4 separate regions of the Homo sapiens genome follow, and all the other regions are linked to region 1. Evidence: promoter capture Hi-C in 16 types of primary human blood cells and fetal thymus (Javierre and others, 2016). All regions are on one chromosome and are shown on one strand. The core of a region is centred on a gene start or on the middle of the fragment in contact, and the rest is flanking DNA. Distances in the headings are between cores, read along the strand shown.

What was found. The method cuts DNA at HindIII sites, captures the fragments that hold promoters and counts their contacts. A CHiCAGO score of 5 or more calls a contact.
Region 2: a contact is called between a fragment that was not itself captured here and the fragment with the promoter of FAM168B in region 1, in 1 of 17 cell types (total CD4 T cells). The highest score is 8.2, in total CD4 T cells.
Region 3: a contact is called between a fragment that was not itself captured here and the fragment with the promoter of FAM168B in region 1, in 1 of 17 cell types (M0 macrophages). The highest score is 5.4, in M0 macrophages.
Region 4: a contact is called between the fragment with the promoter of SAP130 here and the fragment with the promoter of FAM168B in region 1, in 1 of 17 cell types (monocytes). The highest score is 5.4, in monocytes.

What each region holds. Positions count from the first base shown.
Region 1 is chr2:131,091,936-131,094,842 of GRCh38, forward strand. FAM168B (family with sequence similarity 168 member B) reads right to left here and starts at 1,525. Exons shown (of 7, transcript NM_001009993.4): 1 at 1,279-1,525. RefSeq lists a silencer at 979-1,698. The HindIII fragment of the contact is 2,381 bases long and covers 595-2,907 here.
Region 2 is chr2:134,194,575-134,197,481 of GRCh38, forward strand. It overlaps a transcript of MGAT5 not described here. Among named protein-coding and RNA genes, the nearest start is that of MGAT5, 58 kb to the right of the region's middle. The HindIII fragment of the contact is 1,171 bases long and covers 915-2,085 here.
Region 3 is chr2:128,009,605-128,012,511 of GRCh38, forward strand. SAP130 (Sin3A associated protein 130) reads right to left here. Exons shown (of 21, transcript NM_001330301.2): 7 at 665-789. Among named protein-coding and RNA genes, the nearest start is that of SAP130, 17 kb to the right of the region's middle. The HindIII fragment of the contact is 6,120 bases long and covers 1-2,907 here.
Region 4 is chr2:128,026,677-128,029,583 of GRCh38, forward strand. It overlaps SAP130 (Sin3A associated protein 130), which reads right to left and starts at 1,383. Exons shown (of 21, transcript NM_001330301.2): 1 at 1,264-1,383. RefSeq lists silencers at 361-650, 711-1,050, 1,151-1,670, 1,921-2,070. The HindIII fragment of the contact is 20,582 bases long and covers 1-2,907 here.

The DNA of each region.
Region 1 (2,907 bases), core at 275-2,774:
TGGCTAACACGGTGAAACCTCGTCTCTACTAAAAAAAAAAAAAAACAAATACAAAAAAATTAGCCAGGCGTGGTGGCGGGCGCCTGCAGTCCCAGCTACTTGGGAGGCTGAGGCAAAAGACTGACGTGAATCCGGGAGGCGGAGCTTGCAGTGAGCCGAGATGGCGCCACTGCACTCCAGTCTGGGAAACAGAGGGAGACTCCGTCTCAAAAAAAAAAAAAAAAGTGCTCAATTGATCCAGGAAAAGAAACTGTCTAAGACAACTTGGGTATAATTTCCCTTTAAACTACGGAACTCCACCAAAGTAAGCCTGCTTTGTAAAGACAAAGAGAAGCAAGATCTTCACAATTTCTGCAACACTAGCTTCAAAATTAGAATAGCCTTACACTGCTCAAATCTTGGCTGTCAAAGCAAAAATAACCCACTCCTTCATCTACAAGAGCTTAAAAATGTGTCCTGTTTTTGCCAAAACCAAAAAGTTTTATTTAATCTAGAATCTTTCATCCATAGTATTTGAGAAAAGTGATCTCAAATTACACAAGGATGACCTGAAAGTTTAAGGAGTGGAAACTATATAAACCTTTTTATTTATAAAGCTTCCTTGCATGCGAAAACACTGCAAAATATTCTTGTTTGACTTTAATGATTAAACATTAACTCAAACAGCCCATGAGATGCACACTTCATGTTCACATACACTATAAAACAGAAATACCCTTATTTGTGGACGTCGTAAAGGCGCACTGCACTCTTTTTTCAAAGTTAACCCAGGCTAGGCCACGAAACGTCCTTTCTGAAGGAAATCTTAAAAATCTGTAATTTAAATCGTGCCTTTTCAAGCTGGAAGGAGAACGCTCAGATTCCGCCAAGCAAAAAAATAAAAATAAAAATTATCTTTACTTCGTGGGTAGACAAAGTGAGCAGTTACACATTGGAAATGACTATTGTCACAAAGCTCTGCCCCCGGGTTTCACGCTCGCATTCCTGACGGCTGTGACCCCGACCTTTAGGAGAACGCCCCGCGCCGCGAAGCCACCTCGGCCACCTAGGCGGCAGGCCCGCGCCGCCCGGACCGCACCTGCACGCGTACGTGTCCGGCCGAGCTCCGCCCCCGGCCCCCGCCCGGCCTTGCCCGCGGCACAAAGCGCAGCCCAGGCCGGTCCAGACGCCCAGCGACCCCGAGCCGCGGGCCGACCTTGGCGCCGCCCCGAGCCGGCCGCACAAAGCGCCGCACTTCCGGCCTGGACGCGCAGTCGCCCGCTGCCCGCCCCCACTCACCGCGCCGCGGCGGCGACCTGGGCCTCAGTGACCAGCGCACGCCGGCCCGCGGCGGGCTTGGCCGTGGGGCGAAACAAGGGGGGCGTGCCGAGGAGACCTGCTACGATAAGAGGCTGACCCTCCGAGCCCCGCGTCTCCGCCGCCTCCCGGACGCCGCGCTCCCGCTCGCTCGGCTCCGCTTGGCCCGGCCCGCCTCTCCGCAGCCCGCGCTCCCCGCCGACGCTGCGCAGCCACCGGAGCCGCCGACCTCACTTCCGCCTGAGCGCGCCGCGACGGGGGCGCGCCGGGCACGTGACTGCGCAGCGTGCTCGCTCCCGCCGGCGCCCTCGAGACGCCCGGATGGACGAGCGCGAGCGCGAGCGCGGAGTGGGCCGGTCCCAGTTGGCGAAAGGGCCGGGTGTAGCTGTAGTTTTTTTATTAACTGTCTGTGAAAAAAGTATTTAATTTATATTTTGAGATAGTCCCGCGCCGCAGAAACCTTTGTGTGTGCCCAGACGCCAGGGCGCGGATCCTCAGGCCGCACCCGGGAGTCGAGCACACCCCGGGTGACCGCCACTACGGGGTCGGAGCGGGGCGGAGCTCAGCTCACAGATTCTTTGCCAGTGCGGAGGCTGCGGGCGCCCGCTCAGGAGTGCAGATTTTAGAGAATGCAAGTCAGCGTTTCAAGTGTAGAAGTGCGGGATCATTTCTATAGACAAGAGTTCAGGGAAGTGTACTAGAATGTTAGGGGGTTTTTTGGTTTTTTTTTGAGACGGAGTTTCGCTCTTGTCACCCAGGCTGGAGTACAATGGCGCGATCTTGGCTCACTGCAACCTCCGCTTCCCGGGTTCAAGCGATTCTCCTGCCTCAGCCTCCTGAGTAATTGAGATTCCAGGCGCCCGCCACCACACCTGGCTAATTTTTGTGTTAGTAGAGACGGGGGTTTCACCATGTTGGTCAGGCTAGTCTCGAACCCGTGACCTCAGGTGATCCACCCACGTTGGCCTCCCAAAGTGCTGGGATTACAAGTGTGAGCCACCGCACCCGGCCAAATGTTAGTATTTTTATGTAAGGCTTAGTGTATAGTTACAATGATTTGGTTAGTTCAGGGTGTCTCTCTGGGGGAGGTATGTTTATTATTTCGTATTAAAGAGGTGCGTGTCTTGGTGTTTGTGTTTGGGGTGTCGTCTGGTCTGAGCTAGGTACAGGACGACAAAGGAGGGAGTTATTGCAATAAAGATTAGTGATGGAAGGGAGGAGGCCTGGCTCTGGTCTTTTTTCAGTCGTTTATGAAATAAAAACAGATGGGCGCGGTGTCTCACGCCTTTAATCCCGGCACTTATAGGAGGCCGAGGCGGGCAGATCACGAGGTCAGGAGTTCAAGACCAGCCTGGCCAACATAGTGAAACCGCGTCTCTACTAAAAATACAAAAATTAGCTGCGCGTGGTGGCGCACATCTGTAACCTTAGCTGCTCTGGAGGCTGAGGCAGGAGAATCTCTTGAACCCGGGAGGCGGAGGTTGCAGTGAGCCGAGATCGGGCCACTGCACTCCAGCCTGGGCGACAGAGGAAGACTCCGTCTCAAAAAAAAAAATAAAAATAAAATATAAATGTGATAAAAGGACAAGAAGAAAACATGGGGAAATTCCT
Region 2 (2,907 bases), core at 250-2,749, 3.1 Mb after region 1:
TGCTCACACTCTAGGAAACAGATGATAGGGGGTGTTTAGAGTCCTTGAGTTTTGGTCCTGCTAGCGTGCATTCTCTCCCTCCCCCGGGAGGTCTAGATACTTCAAGGTAGATATAGAGAGTACTGTCTTGCTTCTGTCATTGAACCAGATTGTGAAATAATGCCCCCTTCACCAGGACTTTGGAGAGACAGGAGTGTTCTCCAAATCTGCCCTCACTTCATGTACTGTTCAAGGCCCTGGTGGAATATCTTCCATGAGCATTTGCGCCCCTTCTTGATATTTGGTATTTTGTGGTTCAGGTGGTTCATGTTGCTGTAAGAACCTCACTTCTGGAAGCTGATAATGCAGTTGAAGTTGGGTGCTCTTTTACTAATATCTAGTCTTTTCTCTGTAGTCTGAGTGGATTGTTCAGACTTAAAAGGTCCAGCAGCATTTTATTTGTGACTGGCTGTGAAAGTCACATACCTATTTTATTTTTATGGCCTCTGATCTCAAATATCCCCCAGAACACAGTCGGCATCCATATAATGCATAGTGGAGGTTGTTAACCTCCAGGACTGAAACACCATTTGGAATATTCCTGTGAACAGTTTGGATTCCTTCAGGTTCCTAAACCAATGGCTCATTTCTCACCCACCTAAGAGGGTGACTTGAATCTGAATTAGCAGGTACTGTGTTAGACTTCAAACCTTATTAGTCATAAACAAATTTAATACTCCTTTACATTTTTAACTCAGAAAAAAGATTCAAGTGTGAATTTTCTGTTTCTAGACAAGGATTTATCTTCTCAAAAGTTCTGAAATCGCCTTTCAGTTTTAGTCTAGGCATTCTGTTGAACAATTCTTATGTTTTTATCTGCTTAAGTTGGAGTATACTTTCCTAGAATTATCCTAGAAATGATAAGAAAGATCTAAAGCTTTAAATTCTGGAGTCTGAAATATCCCATAATACCCTGTTTTTATCTCCCATATCGGCTGCAGCAGGTGGTTTCATAATTTATGTACGTAGGTTTCCGTTTGCTTCACTAGGCTACTTGTGGATGAGTGTCCTTTGGCCTTACTCATTTTTTAATTCCTAGTACCTACTGCATTAAGTGAATCTCATTGTAAAGTTCACCTAGCGCCTTTTTAACGTCTATAATCTTTTCTGTGTTTGATGTCTGGTGTGCGTGAGCCTGTGTTTTAGGAAGAACTTGGAAAAACTTCTTAATGGCTGGGTAATCTTATTTTCCGTAGTGGATTTTATTTGTGACAATTGTATTAAGAAATGGACTTTATTCTGTGTGCTGTGCTGGAGAATGTACTGGAAGACCAGAGGGGTCTAGGCTTTGCAGTGCCTATAACTGGCTTGTGATCTCCAGCAAGTCACTTAATATATCTGAGTGTCTAGAACAAATGGTCTAGAAAACCCCATTCCAAAAATTCCAGGGTAAAAAGTCAGGATGATCCTCATGAAACTAAAAGCAACTTTTTCCCCAACATATTATTCAAGGTGTAGTTCCCTGGAGGCTCCTCTGTAGCACTCTGGACATGGTGCTCTTCGGAAGTTGAATTTGCTCATTGCCTCTGTTGTTTCTTAACCATTAGTTAGACATTTAGTCTCTATGCCAAGCTGTAAACAAGTTAGCAGAAGTGGAAATTTTTGTGGAGCATAGAATTAATTGGTTTGGATATGCCTGTGCTTGGGAATTTACCTATTGTTGGTGTTTGAAAGTATATTTTTCCCCTTTCTTTGAAACGATTTTAGGCCGTTGCTTCTGGTACTCAAGTACCAGTATGGAGGGTCTGAATGTGTGGTATATGGCCTTTTCTTTCAGATCTTAAGGCTTAAAAAAAAAAAAAACTATGGATCCAAGGGAGCTTTTTAAAACACTCTTTAAAATACGTGTTTTGTTTTCTATTTAATGTAGGATTCATTTTCAAAGCAAAGTGATCATTTAAAAATATGACAGCCCAGATTTGTTAATGAGCTAGCAAATGGTTGCTGTTAAGTGCAAAATTGTTTTCCCATAAGGTTCAACTCCTAATGATAGTCGATGCTTGTAAGTGACATGGATCTTTAGCTCCGCTTTTATAGTTTAGAGCAAGCTTGTCCAGACTGCGGGCCACCTGTGGCCCAGGACGGCTTTGAATGCGGCCCAACACAAATTTGTAAAGTTTCTTAAAAAATGGAATTTTTTTTTAGCTCATCAGGTTTCCTTACTGTTAGTGTATTTTATGTGTGGCCCAAGACAGTTCTTCTAGTGCGGCCCTTTGGTGAAGCCAAAACATTGGCTGCCCCTAGTTTAAAGGCTATGTCTCCTATCTCATATTTTAATAGGCTAAGTTGTACTAGTTTAACAGGAATATGTGTGTTTGATTTACAAGGGGATTTCCTAAAGTTGTGGCCTCTGCCTTTGAATTTTCAACTACTTTAAAAAATACTCTTAAGGACAACCTTAACACAGTTCAATGATTTCTTAATTAGTTCATCAAATATTTATTGAGTTTTTACTGTGCCAGGTACTGGGATGTATGTGGTGGATGGTATGGGGGGTGGTCAGGGATACAAAGATGAAAAACTGCTTCTGCCTTTAGGAACTCTGCAGATTGGTGGGTTGGCAGGTATGTATGCCCCAATATACTTCAGTCAATATTTCAAAGTCTTCCAAGCCCTTAGGAGTTGGAACATTTTTACGTTTGAACTTGACCGTGATGTTGTGGAATTTTCTAGCTCAGGAAGGGCCTTCTAGGCAGGAGAAACAGCATTAGCATTACGAGGTGATGCTAGACCTGTTCCAGAAATTGAGTAATTTATATGAGAGAGTCTGGTAGAAAATTCAATTCAAAAGGTCGGTTGAGACATTGAGTGACTGGAAAAGCAAAGCTTGTATTTTCAGGTGGATCTAGCACTTAAAAATTGGGATTT
Region 3 (2,907 bases), core at 157-2,656, 3.1 Mb before region 1:
CAACCAGGCTGAACCAACTGAAACTTCAGATCATTGCATCGGTCTGCTAAAAACTCCACTAAGGCTTTCCATCATGCCCCAGCCGAGTCCATGTCCTTAGTGTGGCTCCTAAGGGCCTATGTGATCTGGAGACCCTGCTACCTCCCCAAATCTAACTCTTGCCACCTTGGCCTCACTGGTGGTCCTTATAAGTGGCAAACACAATCCTGTCTCAGAGCCTTTGCGCTCACTGTTCCCACTGCCTAGAATACTCTTCTCTCCGATAACCATATAGCTCACTCACTTCATTATATCTTTTCATTTTCTACTGAAATGTATTCTTATCAACAAAGCCCTCTCCGACCACATTACATGAAACTGTAAGTCCCCTGCACCACCCACCCTGTCACTCCCAATCCCTTTTACCCTTATTTTTTTCCAAAGCACTTTTCACCATCTAAAAAGCTACATATTTATCGCGTCTCCAGCCTGTAAAAACAGAAGCTCTGTGTGGGCAGCAATTTCTTTGTTCACAGCTTTAGCCCCAGGATTTAGAACACTACATAGCTCATTATAAAAAAAAAAAGCCACTCAATAAATATTTACTTAAATGAAGGAACGAAAGAAAAAAGAGTGAAGGAGGAGGATGGCAGGAAGGTTCAAACTTCATACTCCCCATGTATACCTAAGTGCTGAATCAGTAGCATGCGCCGCTGTCGTAGTGATGACTGGAGACTGAGCTCTGGTGGCTGAGACAGTTGCTACCACAGCAGGAGGGATGGCATTGGAGGTGGTCACAGGTGGCCGAGACTACCAAAAGAGAAAAAACAGTTCATTTAAAACAAAAATAAAATAGAGGAAGTCAAATACTAAATGTGTAATTTGAAACTTGAGCCTACAGATAAGCATGTTTCTGCCCAAGTAAAAATAAATTCTCACCATTCCAATTAAGGAATTCTCTTTTCAGATAGGTTGTTATAAGACCAAGAGCCAGGCCGGGCACGGTGGCTCACGCCTGTAATTCCCAGCACTTTGGGAGGCTGAGGTGGGCAGATCAACTGAGATCAGGAGTTAAAAGACCAGCCTGGCTAACACAGTAAAACCCTGTCTTGACTAAAAATACAAAAAAAATTAGCCGGGTGTGGTGGCACGCGCCTGTAATCCCAGCTACTCAGGAGGTTGAGGCAGGAGAATCGCTTGAACCTGGGAGGCAGAGGTTGCAGTGAGCCAAGACCGCACCATTGCGCTCCAGCTTGAGCAACAAGAGAGAAACTGTCTTGAAAAAATAGAAAAGAAAAAAAAAAAAGACTAAGAGTCAGAATTATTAAAAAAAAAAAATCCCTTAAGATACCACTGACAAGTGTTTTGAAAAAAAAAAAAAAATCCCATTTTGATTGAACAGTACATGAGTCCCTCCTGTACAAATGTGATTGGAGTCAAAATTCTGCCCTACTATTGGTACCAATGGGATCTCACCCTTCAATCTAGAGTTGCCACAGGTCTGTTGTTGGTCCTGGTGTAGACATTTTACGCTGCCATCCAACCCAGCACCTCCACAGAGGGCCTACTCAGCTGCTGAATAGAGCTGTTGGCTCTCAGGCCATCTACGTTAGTGAGTACAAGGGCAACTCAAGGTAACAGTATTCTTTTCTAGGTAATCGTTCAGGGTGCCCATATCCTTTCTGGATGTTTTCACATGGACAGAGTGCCCTTATCACACTTACGTGTGAAATCTTCCTCTAAAAAATAAGCTCCACACTGGGCTTCATCCACATACCCACCATTATTCTTCGAATCACCTGAGTTCTGATTCTTCCCTTGCTCTTAACCCTGAAACATGCATCTAAATGGCCGAGCTCTGCCCATTCCTCATCCTTGCTTTTCATCTACAGCCCTTTTACCTGCCGCTTCTACCATGTGCAGGTGCGTGTCTCACACTAGGGCTACAGCACCAGCTTCCTCACTCGGGAGCTCCTTGTCTTGGTTCTCGTCTTCCTCCAACCCTTCATATGTATCACATATACTACTAGAGGCCTAATACTCCTCCGACTCTGTTTTCTTGGCCAGAAAAGTATTTATCTTGAAAGCTGTAGGCTAGACAGATACTACCCAGTATCATAATCAAGACTTCCTTATTATCTTAAACCCAGTTGTTTCATACATCTGTCTGTCCCCTGAAAGTGCTTAAGGGGACAGACCTCCTGTATGTGATTCAGCTAGATTAATCTTATCTTTCTTATTTTTTGTGAGATGGAGTCTCACTCTCTCGTCCCAGCTAGAGTGCAGTGGCACGATCTTGGCTCACTGCAACCTCTGCCTCTCGGACTCAAGTGATTCTCCCACCTCAGCCTCCCAGGTAGCTGGGATTACAGGCACGCACCACCATGCCCAGCTAATTTTTTGGCATTTTAGTAGAGACAGGGTTTCACCATGTTGCCCAAGGCGGTTTCAAACTCCTGATCTCAGACAATCCGCCCGCCTTGGCCTCCCAAAATGCTGGGAATTACAGGTGTGAGCCACTGCGCCTGGCCTAATCTCATCTTTCAACAGTATTACTTTAATGATACACAGAGCCATTGTGTTAAAAAGACAAAAATGATTTTTGGCCGGGCACAGTAGCTCACGCCTGTAATCCTAGCACTTCAGGAGGCCGAGGCAGGCAGATCACTTGAGGTCAGGAGTTCGAGACCAGCCTGGCCAACAGGGTGAAATCCTGTCTCTACTAAAAGTATAAAAATTAGCCGGGCATGGTGGTGCACACCTGTAGTCCCAAGTACTTGGAAGGCTGAGGCAGGAGAATCGCTTGAACCCAGGAAGCAGAGGTTGCAGTGAGCTGGGATCGCACCACTGCACTTCAGCCTGGGCAACAGAGTGAGACTGTCTCAAAAAACAAAAACAAATAAACAAAAAAACGCAGTGGCTCTCTAC
Region 4 (2,907 bases), core at 133-2,632, 3.1 Mb before region 1:
CAAGGTGAACAGAACTGTGATTAGTATGTCATAGGAACATTCGGAGGAAGATATCCAGCCCTAAGAAAAGATCCGATATCTTACATCCAGACCCGATGCAAAAGGAATTCTCCAATGCTTTTCGGCAAAGGCCTCCATTTACGGATTTCCTTTTCCTTCTCTTCCACAGATCCCCTCACAGAGCCAGAGGACCCTACACCTTCTCCATCTTCCCTAAAATCGCCCCCCACTTTTCCCTCAGGAGCCAAGCGATCTCCCGATTCGCCCGCAACCCCACCCCACCGCGAAGCCCCCGCTGAGACCGGAGGACGCCGGTTTCCAGACACCTCGGAGTGTGAGACCCCCGTCTCCGGGGTGGGGGTGCGGACGGGCGATCTGGGGACCCGACCACAAGACGAGCACTGTGCCTCTTTACCTGTAGCCGCCGCCCGCCGCCCGCACCGCCCGCTTCTATCTCGCCGGCCTGGGGGTGCCGCGGAGGGCCCATCTCGGCGGCGGCGATGTGCTCGGCGGGCGCGGGGAGGGATCGCGGCGGCGGCGCCCGGGGCCCGCTGCTGTCCAGCCCCGCTGGCCCCACTCACCCCCGCCACCCGGCCGCCGCTGTGCTCGCAGTCCTCTTCCCCCGAACCTGCCCCTGCCTCCCCCGCCCGCCCATTGGCCCCACGCCCGACGCGTCAGTGGAGGCCCAGGACCAATCCACAGCGACCTGCACGTTCAGAGCCCGCCCCACCCTCCCGCCGACTGCCAGCCAATCAGGCGCGAGCCTGGCCGGGGCAGCCCAAACCCCTCGAGGCTGAGCCAATGGCAGAGGAAGACAGGCGCCCCCGGCGAAGGGGGCGGGGAGCGGGGAGGCCCCGCCTCAGCCAGGGTCTGAAAGCGGCGGGCGCAGGGCCCGGATGTGGAGAGTCACTTTAAACTGCTCCAGGAGCCAAACTCCCTGGGCCGGCCGCCCGCCCGCCCGCCCGCCCGCGCTCCCCCGGCCGCTCTGCTTCCCCGCCAAGGCCCACGTCCGCCACGCCCCCACGCCCGGGTCAGCCCACCCCTCCCGGTGCCTCTCCCTTCCTCGCCACAGGACACCCAGCCCCTGTCGCCGGCCCAACCGCCGTGACCAGCTCGCGAAAGAGCCGCGGTCCGAGCCGCAGGAGACGAGGATCCTCTGCCCTTCCCCGGGGACGCGCAACGGGACGGACGCTGCAGCCCGGCTCAGCCGCCCCGCCCCCTCGTCTCCTCCCCTTCCCTCCCGGGCGCCCGTCCCGCCATTACCTGGGTGCTGCGCCCAGTGGCCGCCGCGCCGCCTTGAGCTCGCTCCCGCGCGCTCTCCGTCTGTGGGGCCGACGTCCCCAGGCTCCGGACCCGCAGCCACCGCCGGGGAGCTAGCACTCTGCCCCCCACCCCTCACTCCAGCGCCGCTGCTTCCGCCGCCGTAACGAGCCTCCCGTCTATTGGCTGGCGCAGGCCCCGCCCCCTGCCGAGTCAGCCAGTCGCCGGTGGTCGTGAGCGGGAGAGCGGACGGGCCCGCCCCTCTGAGCCGCGGCGTCCTGTGGGAAATGTAGTCGCCGGAGTCAGGAGGGCGGGCCGCGAAGGAGGTGGAGAGCGCCGGGGCGGGGCCGCAGGCGACCCGGCCAGGGCAACACACCCCTTTGCTGTCTGAAGTCGGTTCTGCCTTTTCTCTTGGCTAAGTGAGAAGACAGTGGATCCCACCCTATGCCTTAACCTGAGGGCACTGGGTTTCATTTTCCCCGCGGGGAGGCGCGGCGCGGGAAAGGGTAATGGAGGCCAACTGCGGCGGCCAAGGGATCCGCGGGCCGGGCCAGTGTCGTGACGGTGCCCGCCTCCCTATGCCGCGAGTGGGACTCGGTGTCCCCACCGGGAACCGCGGTCGGCACAGCCTACGCGCGGCGGGAGCCGCCAGGCGCAGCGCGGGCGCGGCTCTGTGAAAGCAGGCCGGCAGGGCGCAGGGCTCTGGGCGGCCGGGGCGCACCTGCGCGCGCTTTCCGGATTATAAAGGAGCTGAAGGGGGCAGTTTTATTTTGTCATTTTGCTTGGGGTTCAGGGTTGGAGTTTATGCACCTGTAGAAGACTTAGCCATATCTTTTGAGGCCACATTTGTGTCTGATAAGAGATTAAGTCTCCCTCTTCCCTTACCAGATGGTAATTTAGGCCTGGAGTTTTGTGATTAGTTAGGAAATAAATGGGGCTCAAACCCCCCTCTTCCTATCATGCACAGCTGTGTAAGACAACTGCTTGGTTAGAAGAGAGTAGCTCCTGGCTATAGCCCAGGGATGAGTCTCAGATACTCCTCCTCTTCAAGCCACTTTCCTTTTCCACCTTCATGCCTTCATTCTCAAACTTCTAAAGAGTGACTCCTGTGATAGACTTCAGCCTCCTCTCTGCCTAGGCAGTCCTTATCCCTTTTGGAGTTGCCACTCTTCTCAGACTGCTCCCCAAAAGTTGCCAACACCTACTCAACTTCAAACCCATCGGTCCTCACTTAGATCTCATCTTGTTTAGCTTACTGACCAGTAGTAATTCCTCCTCATGTCTTCCCTTGGCCTCTAGAACCAGGCTGTCTCCTGCTTCTACTCCTATGTCAAGCTCCATTATACCTCCTCTTTCTCATAAATACAGCATTCTTCAGGGCTCCAACACGCTAATGCTATACTGCCTTCCTAAATGGTTTAATGTATTTCCACAGTTTCAAATGTCATCCTTTTTGTTTTTTGTTTTTTTGAGACAGGTTCTCAGTTCAGCCCAAGCTGAAGTCCAGTGGCGTGATCACAGCTCATTGCAGCCTCGACTTCCTTGTCTCAACTAACTTATTGCCTCAGCCTCCTGAGTAGCCAGGACTGCAGGCGCATGCCACCACACCCCACTAAACATATATATATGCCAGGCACGTGGCTCATG